Regions from separate parts of the Homo sapiens genome. Here region 2 is linked to region 1. The links are contacts of gene promoters, found by promoter capture Hi-C in human tissues and cell types (Jung and others, 2019). All regions are on one chromosome and are shown on one strand. The core of a region is centred on a gene start or on the middle of the fragment in contact, and the rest is flanking DNA. Distances in the headings are between cores, read along the strand shown. Region 1 holds the start of ASTL (astacin like metalloendopeptidase). Region 2 holds the start of LOC124900512 (fumarylacetoacetate hydrolase domain-containing protein 2B-like).

Evidence for each region. The method cuts DNA at HindIII sites, captures the fragments that hold promoters and counts their contacts. A contact is called where the count stands out against the background at its distance.
Region 2: a contact is called between a fragment that was not itself captured here and the fragment with the promoter of ASTL in region 1, in 1 of the 25 tissues and cell types used here (hippocampus).

The regions. Positions count from the first base shown.
Region 1 is chr2:96,134,763-96,140,593 of GRCh38, forward strand. ASTL (astacin like metalloendopeptidase) reads right to left here and starts at 3,740. Exons shown (of 9, transcript NM_001002036.4): 1 at 3,620-3,740; 2 at 2,813-2,938; 3 at 589-650. The coding sequence starts at 3,674. RefSeq lists enhancers at 1-353, 1,205-1,254, 3,595-3,664 and a silencer at 4,555-4,644. The HindIII fragment of the contact is 6,053 bases long and covers 1,822-5,831 here.
Region 2 is chr2:96,007,437-96,013,267 of GRCh38, forward strand. It overlaps LOC124900512 (fumarylacetoacetate hydrolase domain-containing protein 2B-like), which reads left to right and starts at 3,308. Exons shown (of 4, transcript XM_047446740.1): 1 at 3,308-5,831. It also overlaps the pseudogene FAHD2CP. RefSeq lists an enhancer at 2,195-3,026 and a silencer at 2,977-3,056. The HindIII fragment of the contact is 3,783 bases long and covers 926-4,708 here.

The DNA of each region.
Region 1 (5,831 bases), core at 2,490-4,989:
TTCCCCTGGGTCACTGTCCTATTCAGGAGCCTTCTGCCATTCGCAGTTGCCTGAAACACATGGCTGCCATCCTGGGCACAGTGTTCCCTTTTCTGTTAGCAAGGCGCCCCAATCCCCAGCAACCTTCTCCCTTCAGATGCGGCCCCTCGACCACAGCCAAGATGGTCAGGCTCAACATCACTCCTTGTTCCACCATCCCTAGGTCGCCACTGCCACCAGGCCCTTTATCTGCCACTGGCCACTCTGCCAACCCTTGCTCATCTCTTCCTTTATCTGAGCACCTCCCGAGTGCTGAGCACCTCCCCTGGGCAGGGTACCAAGCTGGGTCAAGTGTTCAAACCTCCTCCTTCAGGAAGCCCTCTCAGGCTGACTGTGCCAGCACTTCAGATACCAGCCTTCCTTAGCATTCAGGCTGGCTTATTCCTATTTCCTAACAGAACAGTCGCTCTGACCTTGACAAAAAGAGGCATCTACCAAGCTATGTATGTCCCTCACACATCAGGCCCCATGGCATCCAGGGTGGGCTCAGAGGACCTGTCGCCAACTGTGGGCTTATCCGCACCCACACACGTCAGTGTGTGCACTCACCGGCCGGATGATGTCCCCCTCGATGAGGAAGCTGCTCTCTGGGGTTTCTTCCAGGATGAGCCCTGGGAAAGGAAGAAGGACGTGTTGGCCCATGTCCCCCAGAACACTGACTCGTGGGACAGGCCAAGCAAATCCCTACTTACTTAAGTCTATTCTTGTGTCTTTCCTAGTGGATTGTTACTTTTATAAGTTCTTAAATAGCCTGATAAAAGTATAGGTCATCGGCTCTCCGAGCCTGGGTGTTTAGTTAAGTCATTAGTTGATGTTTGAGAATGTCAGCCACCCTGTGCGGACTGTCTGCAGGTGTGAGGGGGCTGGAGGACAAAGACAAAGGAGACTGAGGCTTGGGGTCTGTCCCTCTCCTGACTGTGGAGCTAGAGGTTCCCTGAGCACTGAGCCTGCGTGGCCTCAGGGAAGTCACACAGTCCCTGAGTGTGCAAGGCTTCTCGGCTGGACTGCAGCCTTCCCCTGCTCAAACACAGCCCATGACCCACGCAATCCAGTCCCAAGCCCGGGTCCCTGCTGTCAGGAAGCAGTGGCTTCTTCCAGCCTGAGCCACACTCCTCAGAACAGGCCCTGGGGTCTCCTGCCCACCTCATCCCCCATCTATTCCCCACCCATCTGTTATATTCAGGCCCCTTGAGGTGGCAATTTTGTTCCACAAATTTGTTCCACCATCAGAGGCAGGCAAATACCGGCTCTCGCAAGCCCCTCTCCCCTCTTAGTCCCTCTGCTTCTCATCTCTCCCTGAGCCGGGTCTCCCACAAGTGACTCACAGGGGGAGTGAGGGAAGCAGGAGAGAAGGCAGGGAAGAACCCAGGCACAGCCTCAGCCAGATCCCATGGGCGCTCCAGACCACAAATGACACCGCTGACTTGTACCACCTTTAGGCAGGAGCCAGACTCCTGTCCCTTAGAAGTCACAGTAGGCCACCTTGGGCAGACAAGGGAGTAGCCCCCGGGCATCTCTGGCTGAGGCAGCTCCTTCTGGCCAAGGGCCAGTTTTGGGAGGCAGACAGCTGTGCAGCATTAGCCATATTCACAGTGGCTGGAGATGGGCAGGTGCTTCCCAGGAAAGCACTGGGTAAGGCACGGGCAGCCCTTATGAGACAGCCTCACCGTAGGTGATAGGATAGTTGTTGGGGTCACCAGCATTTGGGAGTTTTCTCCATTGGTTCTGGTTACCTGCAGACCACTCACGGTGATCCAGGGGTGGGATGGTGCCTGGGGCTCAAGGCTCAGCTGGCGCTGGGCTCCCAAGTCAGCTCACAGAGGAAGAAGGGGGCAGATCACACAGTGGCTACCACATCTGGTAGGATCTCACCCACCCTTAGGGCAAGGTTGTCCCCTGTTCAGCCCGATTGCTTCAACCCTGAGTGCTTCAGCCCTCATTGCTCCAACATCTGAACTCCAGTCTCCATTTCAACTGGCTTTGTTCAGGCTATTTATACACCCTCATTCCTCAGCTGACATCCCCAGACAGCAAGGCCCTGAGCCTGACTTTTGTTTTTTGTTTTTTGTGAGATGCTCTGTCGCCCAGGCTGGAGTGCAGTGGCGCAATCTCAGCTCACTGCAAGCTCCGCCTCCCAGGTTCATGCCATTCTCCTGCCTCAGCCTCCTGAGTAGCTGGGACTACAGGCGCCCGCCACCACGCCCGGCTAATTTTTGTATTTTTGGTGGGGACGGGGTTTCACTGTGTTAGCCAGGATGGTCTCGATCTCCTGACCTCATGATCTGCCCGCCTCAGCCTCCCAAAGTGCTGGGACTACAGGCGAGAGCCACCGCACCCAGCTGAGCTTCAGACTTCTTAATCACACCTGCAGACAGTCCTGCACAGGGTGGCTGACAATCTCAGACTGCGACTAACCGCTTAGCTCCACGCCCAGGCCCTTTAAGAGCTTGGTTTTTCTTATAAAAGTAACAATCCACTAAGAAAGATACAAAAAGAAAGAGTAGACTTAAGCAATTGCCCATAGAATTTCCACCCATTCACACCTGTAGTCCCAGCTGCTCGGGAGGCAGAGGCAGGAAGATCACTTAAGGCCAGGAGTTCAAGACCAGCCGGGGCAATATAGCAACACCACTCCATCTCTTAAAAACCACTTAGAGCCCAGAGTAAGCTGGTCCATTTCCTCCCAGGCTCTGCATTTCTGAGTGTTCGGTGTGGTTTTCACACTACATAACGTCGTGCCCCTCCAGGCCGTGAGAAGATGTAGTGCCCTCACCTTGGTTAATTGCAGGAATGTCCTTGTCCCCGGAGGCCTGGGTTCCCTCAGGGGTGAGGCCATCTGGGAAGCTGGTACCACAGGCTCCTGCGCAGCTGGAGGCCAGGGGCGCTCCTAGGATCACACCTGGTCCAGACAGACAGGGGCATACACAGATGCCTGGAGCACCCACCGGTGAGACCAGACAGCAGGACATGGGGTGGGTGTGGGGGATCAGACGGTAAGACTCAGTCCCTAGGAAGAGTAGGCTCCAGCACAAAGCCAAGGAGCCTTCCCAGCCTCCCTGCTCAACCCCAACTGGTGCCAAGGTCTAGATGACCTCAGGGAAGGAGCTCCCTTAGGGGGACCAAAAGGGACCATGTGCCCCACCTATGAGGTAGAGGAGGGGCAGGAAGGAAGGAGGCAGGACAGACCTCGGGTTCTGACGCCCGTGACGGGCAGGGCCAGCCTCAGACCCCACCTTATGACTCTCTCTCAGCCCAGGCTCTTGGACAATGGGCTCAGCCTGGATGACTCCCTGCCTGACCAGGCTGGAGTGGGGACTTACAGCCTACCCCCACCCCAAGACAAGTAGGCCTGGGGCACAACACTTATCTTCTGCCAGGCAGGCCCTCTGCTTCCAGGGCCTTCAGGAGGCCTCCCCTTGGCCCCCCAGGAGCTGACTTCTAGAATAACCCTGGAGAGCTCTGTGCTCTGAGCTACTGAGCTCAGCTACAATCCCTGCAGGCTCCAGCCACAACCTTCTAGCCTCTCCCCAGCTTTCTCCAGGCTGGAGCCAGCAGCAGGAGGGACAGGCAGCCAGCTTACCTGGCAAGGAGAGCAGACCCAGCACCCAAGGCCAGAGACCCCCTACACCCTCCATGGTAGAGCCCTGCTGCCCCTTCAGCAAACAAGACCAAGCCCCAGCAAGACACAGTAACCTAATTGCAGAACCGGCACCACCACCCCCTCTTAAATAGCAGCTGCTCCACCTCCCACCTTGCTCCCCTCAACCGCCTCCACCTGCAGCCCCGCCCCAACCACCTCCACCTGCAGCCCCGCCCCAACCATCTCCACCTGCAGCCCCGCCCCAACCACCTCCACCTGCAGCCCCGCCCCAACCAGCTCCACCTGCAGCCCCGCCCCAACCAGCTCTACCGGCAGCGCCACCCAAACCAGGTCTACTGGCAGCCCCTCCGATGCCTACCTGTGGTTCCCACCCCAGCCCAGTCCCCTTCCTGGCTGTAGCAGGTGAAAGACAGGAGGGGCCCGCTTGGGAGTGTGGCTCTTCTGAGGTTCCTTCCTGCCTCCAGGGGGCAGAGAAACATCGCAGAAAGTTGCTCCAGGCCTAGCTGAGGCCCCAGCCCAGGTATAGACCTATTCCTCCAGCGAGGGAGACCCCCTTTCCTACCCCGGCCTGTGCTTAGACATGGGGAAAGCTGCCTGAGACCCTGGGGCGCCCCCCGTGTATCTCCGGAAGGAGGAAAAGGTCACTGCACTTTCACAAGCTTTTATTTTAGTACACATATAGAAAAGTTCACTATCACAAGCACAGGGCTCCAGGAAATTTCACAAACTGAACAGTGTGCAGCACCCTAGAAAGCCTGCCATGTGGGAAAGGTGGAACCCCCAGATGCCCAGAGCCTCGCAGGGAGTCCACCCCCTAATCCCACAGCAGCTGGCATGATCAGTCAGTATTTATTCCCATTTCACAGATTTGGAAATTTAAACTCCTTACCTATATCCCCCCTCCTCCATACCCCTGAGCCCCAGAGCCAGGTCACTCAGGGCCCCACCTGGATTGAAATCCCAGAGGCGGAGCATGTCAGCGCTGGGCAGCATTTGGGGACACCCCCACAGTCACCTGCACCCAGTGAAGGGAAGCGACAGAGCCAAGAAGAATAGCTATTGTCCACAAGGACCTTTCAGCATTCCCACTGTGCCTGGAATCCAGAGCTTCTCCAAAGATAGGAATCAGAATCACAGGGAGACCATGATGGAGGCAGACGCCCTGCTGCCAGGGCAGGGTATTGACAGATGTCAGGATACACACCATGGATATGCTAGTTAGCTTGTTGTGGTCATCATTTCACAAGGTATGCATATGTCAAAACATCACGTTGTATACTTAAACATATACTACTTTTATTTGTCGATTATGCCTCAGTAAACCTAGAAAAAATAAGTAAAATAAAGAATAGGACCCATCAAAAAACAAATGCACAAGGCTGACCACTTAAGATGAGTGTTCAGGAGGGCGCGGTGGCTCACGCCTATAATCCCAGCACTTTGGGAGGCCAAGGCAGGTGGATCACGAGGTCAGGAATTCAAGACCAGACTGGCCACCATGGTGAAACCCCATCTCTACTAAAAGAATACAAAAATTAGCTGGGCACGGTGGCGGGCACCTGTAATCCCACCTACTCGGGAGGCTGAGGCAGGTGAATCACTTGAACCCAGAGGTGGAGTTTGCAATGAGCCAAAATCGCGCCACTGCACTCTAGCCCGGGGGACAGAGTGAGACTCCATCTCAAAAAAAAAGATGAATGTTCAGTAAAAAAAAATAAAGTAGACCGGGCGCAGTGGCTCATGCCTGTAATCCCAGCATTTTGGGAGGCCAAGGCAGGCAGATTACTTGAGGTCAGGAGTTCGAGACCAGCCTAGCCAACACGGTGAAACCCCATCTCTACTAAAAATACAAAAATTAGCCAGAAATCCCTTGAACTCAGGAGGCAGAGGTTGCAGTGAGCCAAGATTGTGCCACTGCACTCCAGCCTGGGCAACAGAGTGAGACTCTGTCTCAAAAAACAAAAGAATTAAAATAATGATAAGAAATAATCACCCTGCTTGGGGAGAGAAACAGAGTCTTTATTAGGACATGCAGTTGGTCTGAGGATATTTTGCTGAGCGAAACAAGCCAGTCACAAAAAGACAAATCCTGCATGCTTCTACCTCCAAGAGGTGTCTAGAGTAGCCCAGTGCACAGGGACGGAAAGTGGAACGGAGCTCACAAGGGGCTGGGGACTGGGGAGGGGAGTTA
Region 2 (5,831 bases), core at 1,567-4,066, 130 kb before region 1:
GCTACAGTGTGTGAGAAGCGCTTAGTTAGGGTAGAAAAAGCATTAGATTTGTGAGTGGAAGATGTCAACAGAAACGTATTCTGATTGACAGCAACCGTGTAGCACCAGATTAACTTCATCTGGATTAAATTTGTTCACTGGCATCTATGTATAGGAAAAGACGTGGCAGATGTAGGGTTTGGTACTATCTGCAGTTTCAGGCATCTGCTAGGGGTCTTTGAAGATATCCCTCAAGGACACTCCATATAAATGAAATCATCCAATATGTACTCATTTTTAATCTACCCTTTTTCACTCCAAATAATTATCTTGATATATTTCTATGTTGTATCAATAATTTGTCCCTTTTTATTGCTGAGTAGTATTCCCTAGTGTGGCTATACACAGAGTGTTTACACATTCACCTGTTAATGGAAAATTGGGTGGTTTCCAGTTTGGGGATTTTACAAAAAGCCTGCTGTGAACACTTCTGAATACATCTTTGCATGAGCATATTTTTCTTATTTCTCATGTAATTACTATCAAACAAAAATATAAATCTGGATTCCATAAAAAGAGAATTTATTCAAAAGGATTGTTGTGGGGGTTGGGGGGGGACTATTACAATAAGGAGACAGTCTGACGATGTGATCCTCAAGTGTCTCAGAGGTTAGGCAAAGGGCTGACCTTGTATAGGGAGGCGTAAACATGGCTAGAAAGAACTGTTATGGGAAAGTGAGCTGAGCAAGAGTGTCACGATCGAGCAGGTCTTACCCTGCAGACAGCCTGTTCTCAGGAGGGACCCTCAGGAAGGCGGTGGGTTGGCACAAGCTGCGGGTGGGCCAAAGGTCAGGGGCTTGGAGAAGGAGAGAATCTGAACCAAGGTTTGGTTACAGGCATTTTGTTCTTATTGATCTGTGGGGACAAGCAGTCCAGCTAATCATTTATGATGTCAAGAATGGGAATTTAGAGGGTCTGTGTATGGTCTGGTCAGGAGGAGACATTCAGGATTCTTATTCAAGCTATATGGAAAGCCACTGGTTCTTTCCAGTAGGGTGTTTTCTGGAACAAAGGAGTGGAAGGATTCCTTAACCTTCACTATTTCTAGGAGCAAAGGGCTAAGGTACAACTCAATACTGTCAATAGTTAGGATTGAAATGGCTAGGTCATATGGTAGGAGTATGTTTAACTCTTCATACACTGCCAAATGATTTTCAATTGTAGTGATACTATTTTATAATCCCATAAGCAGCGTACAAGAATCCCAGGTCCTCCACATTCTTGTGAATACTTGGTATAATCAGTCTTCTTTGTCCATTCTAGTAGGTGTGAGACGGTGTCACATTGTGCTTGCAATTTGCATATCCTTAATGATTAATGATGTTGAGCATCTTTTCATGTCTTAATTTTCTGTCTGTATATCTTATTTGGTGAAGTGTCTGTTCAAATATTTTGTCCATTTAAAAAATTGAATTGTTTGATTTTATCTATTGATTTTAAGTGCTCTTTCTATATTCTGGATACAAGTCTTTTATCAAATATAGCCTCTGAAGATCTTTTCTTTCAGGCTGTAACTTAGCTTTTCAGAAAGTCTTTGGGAGCTATGGCTTAATGAAACACCTGTGCCAGGTTCTCCTCAGCACATCCCCCTGATCACAGCCACCCCCATAGGCTCTTTTTTTTTTTTTTTTTTTTTTTGAGACGGAGTCTTGCTCTGTCCCCCAGTGGTGTGATCCGGGCTCACTGCAAGCTCCGCCTCCCGGGTTCAGGTCATTCTCCTGCCTCAGCCTCCCGAATAGCTGGGACTACAGGCGCCCGCCAACATGCCCGGCTAATTTTTTGTATTTTTAGTGGAGACGGCGTTTCATAATGTTGGCCAGGATGGTCTCGATCTCCTGACCTCGTGATCCGCCCGCCTTGGCCTCCCAAAGTGCTGGGATTACAGGTGTGAGCCACTGCACCCGGCCATAGGTTCCATTTCTATATCGGTGGTGACCTTCTGTAAGCTAGACTGAAGTCCCAAGCTCCAGACCCACGTCTCCAGCTGCCCACTGTTCAATGCCCTTTGGATGTCCCATGCAAATTGGAGCTCACTGTCATCTCCCCAGACCCGCTGCTCCTCCAGAAGCCCTGTCTCCATGATCAGCCCTGCACCTACCAGGCTAGAGACCCAGGAGTCGGCCTTGTACCTGCTTCCTTCTCACTTCCACCTCCTGTCATCCAGAGCTGTCAGTTCTTCCTCCTGAACATCTATGAACACTCACCTTCTCCGCCAAGCACCGCACCATCATTGTTCTCACCCGCACCACCCACCCAGATACCTTTCCTTAGACAGGTGGCCAGAGAAAAACTTCTCAAATAGAAGTCGGGCCATGGCACGCCACTGAGGACCTTCCAGCGGTCTCCTGTGCACTTAAACAAGGTCCAGACTCCTTCGTGGGACAAGTAAAGCTCTTGATGATCTGGTCCTTGAGTAATGTGGGGGCCTCTTGCCCAGAGCCCCTCATACTCTTCAAAGCCGGCAGCCGAAGAGCTGAGCAGTAGCTGTCTGTGGAGTTCAGCCTCCGCTCCCTGCACGCCTGCCCTCTGCAGGGGATGGAGCACCGTTTCCCCACTTCCCCACCTGCGCCCAGCAGTGCAGGTGAAGGCCTGGCTGCTGGGAGTGGCTGGGAAACGCTGAGCTTTGGGGTCAGGAATGCCAGCTCCACTACTCACCGCCTGTGTCACCCTGGGAAAACAGCTCTGGCCCCAGGTTCTCCATAAGTAAAACAGGGTCACTCATCCCTCCCCTCCTCAACGACATATGTCAGAATCAGAAGCCACAAATCATTCTCTCCCACCCAGCACGCTGCCTTGGTCTCCTAGACCACTTTCCCCAACAATGGGAAAGGCGCCAGGCCCAGAACAGGGCCGAGACCGGATGAGGCCAGCGAAGCGCCCAGGGACAAACTTTCAGGCAGCGCCCACTCTCGGTCTCGGGCAATTGCAGGGTCCCTCCGAGAGCGACCGTCTCCAGAAAACGCGGCCGGCGCCTGCCTATGCCCTGAGCCTGAAGAGCCCCCGGCGCCGCCCGCCCCGCACTGGGCCCGCCCCTCCGGGATTGGTGCCCTGCTAGGGGTGGTTGCCTGTGACGTCACCGGACGCGCCCGCTTCTCGCTGGAGTGCGCACCGAGCGGCAGTGACTTCGCCGCTGCTGTAGTTCCCCGGCTGGATGCGGTGACTGGTGCCAGTGCTCAGGCGCCCGCTGCCCTTGACCTCCCGCCCCGCGAGCCCTAACTCAGCGCAGGAGGACCGGCTGCCGCCGCCGCCGCCGCCAGGTAGACCAGGCCTGGCTGGGTTAGGCCAGAAGGGTGTCCCTGGCGCAGGTCTCCCGCGGAGGGCAGAACTAGAACCAGGTTCCCGGCCGTTTCCGACCACACGGATGGGGCGGACCCATGTGAGCCCTCACTAATTGCAGGGGACGAAGCTGGGCATATGGGGAAACTGGGGGTTTCCAGGCGAGTGGACGGTGGGATGGGATCCGACGTGCACACCCACGTTTCAGGCTACTGTTTCCACCTCACGTCGCCGCCCCTTTGCTTATGGACTCTTGCAGAGTTGGATTGAGCTCGGACTGTGTGACATAGTGGTTGTTGCAGAAGCCCCAGGGCCACTTTCTGACTAGTACCTTGGGCACCTGACGTCATCCCTTTGAGTCTCAGTGTCCTCTTCTGTAAAGTGAGGGCGCTTTACCTGAGGGGATTGCTGTAAGGTTGGAATGAACCTGCATGTGTGAGTCATGTGGGAAGGGAACAGTCAATGGGGCCTGGGGTTCTCTTGGAGAGCTGGTAACCAGCCTCGTCCCTGAGGCAACAGCCAGAGGGCGCCTGTAGTTTCCCCACGCATGGCTGTTAGCAGGGCCTCTGCAGGATCTCCTGTGGGAGGTCCCTACTTCTCACTACAATCTTTAGGGCCTTTGGAGGATTTCCTATGGAAGGTCCCCACTTCTCACCACAACATTCTGGGTTAAAATGTCCTTGGTAGGAAGATGGGGCTGAAGCTAGATTTTCTTGCTTGCATTACAAGCTTCTGAACCAAGGACTTCAATGTCACCTGGACTTGGATTCACATCCCAGCTCCTTCCCTTCCTAGCTTTAAGACTGTGTAACCTTGGGCAAATCCCTTAACCGCTTTAAGCCTTAACTGTTTCATCTGTAAAATGGGACTAACAGTACCTACCTTCCACAAGCGTCAAGAATTAAATCAGGCCTGGCGCGGTGGCTCACGCCTGTAATACCAACAATTTGGGAGGCCGAGGCAGGCGGATCACAAGGTCAGGAGATCGAGACCGTCCTGGCTAACACAGTGAAACACCGTCTCTACTAAAAATACAAAAATTAGCTGGGCGTGGCGGCGTGCACCTGTAGTCTCAGCTGCTGGGGAGGCTGAGGCAGGAGAATGGCGTGAACCCGGGAAGCAGAGCTTGCAGTGAGCCAAGATCGTGCCACTGCATTCCAGCCTGGGCGACAGAGCGAGACTCCATCTCAAAAAAAAAAAAAAAGAATTAAATCGGACATTGTAGGTAGAGCACTTAATAGTTGGCATTCAGCGGCAGCAGTTACTGTTATGTTAGCATGTGGAGTGTCTGAGTGTGTGCACTTTGGCTCGAACAGCCTTTTGACAGTGGCACAGTTGGTGCTTGTGTAAGATAGCAGGGCAGAGAAGTCAAAACCCTCGGTTTTCTAGTCAAACTGGTGGGCCACAACAGTGGTGACCTAAGTCTAATGAGTCTTTCACTGAACAAGGCAGATTGAATCTCCAGGCGAGGACCAAGAGTCTGGGGCTCAGCTGCCTCAACATTTTTGGGCATAGAAGGCTGTACAATACAAACAGCCTTTGTTGTAAGAGCAAGGAACCATTCAGGGAAGGCACCATGTGGTAAGGAATAGTGGCCAGAATTGGATTCAGAACAAAACAAGAGAATAGTGTTTGTCTTTAAGTGGAGCCTTGGACTCAAAATAGGACCTGAGCTCTGTGGATAATTTCTTTTTTTTTTTTTTTTTTGGAGTTGCTCTGTTGCCCAGGCTGGAGTGTCGTGGCATGTTCTTGGCTCACTACAACCTCTGCCTCCTGTGTTCAAGTGATTCTCGTATCTCAGCTTCCCTAGTAGCTGGGATTACAGGCGCCTGCCACCAGTCCTGGCTAATTTTTTTGCATTTTTAGGGGAGACAGGGTTTCGCCATGTTGGCCAGGCTGGTCTTGAACTCCTGACCTCAAGTGATCCACCCACCTCGAACTCCCAATGTGCTAGGGATTTCAGGTGTGAGCCACTGCGCCTGGCCCTTGTGGATACTTTCTAGGTGATTTGAGGAGGAAAGGCACAGCCATGTCTCCTAAAGTTAACAAGCACTAAGCTTTCCCAAGTAGTGAAATGTCAAGCCTCTGCTTCTGTCACTTATTTGTTCATTCAGCAGAAAGTCACTGAGAGCCTTCTGTACACCAGGCACAGTGCTGGGCAGTGAAAGAGACAGACATGTCCCTGGATCCAGGGAGGAGATGACCAAGTGATGGCTGTCAGGCCCAGACCTTGCTGTTTGTCTGCAGCCTCTTCCCTCAGGCAACTTGTTCTCTATCAGGAGAAATGAAATAATTATTATCTGGAGAGGCAGGTGGGGGCGCTGCTCCTAGAAGACAAGGACAGCCTGGTAGAGGTTCTAGCTTGATCATGTGAGCAGTGGAAACCATTTTAAGTTGGAGGTTAACAGGACCAAAATAGCATTTAAAAAATGGCTTATGGCCACTGTGAAGCCAGTTTCACCAGCATCACTTGCCCATGCTGGGCTGCCACCCAGCTAATTCCTGGTCCTGCTCAT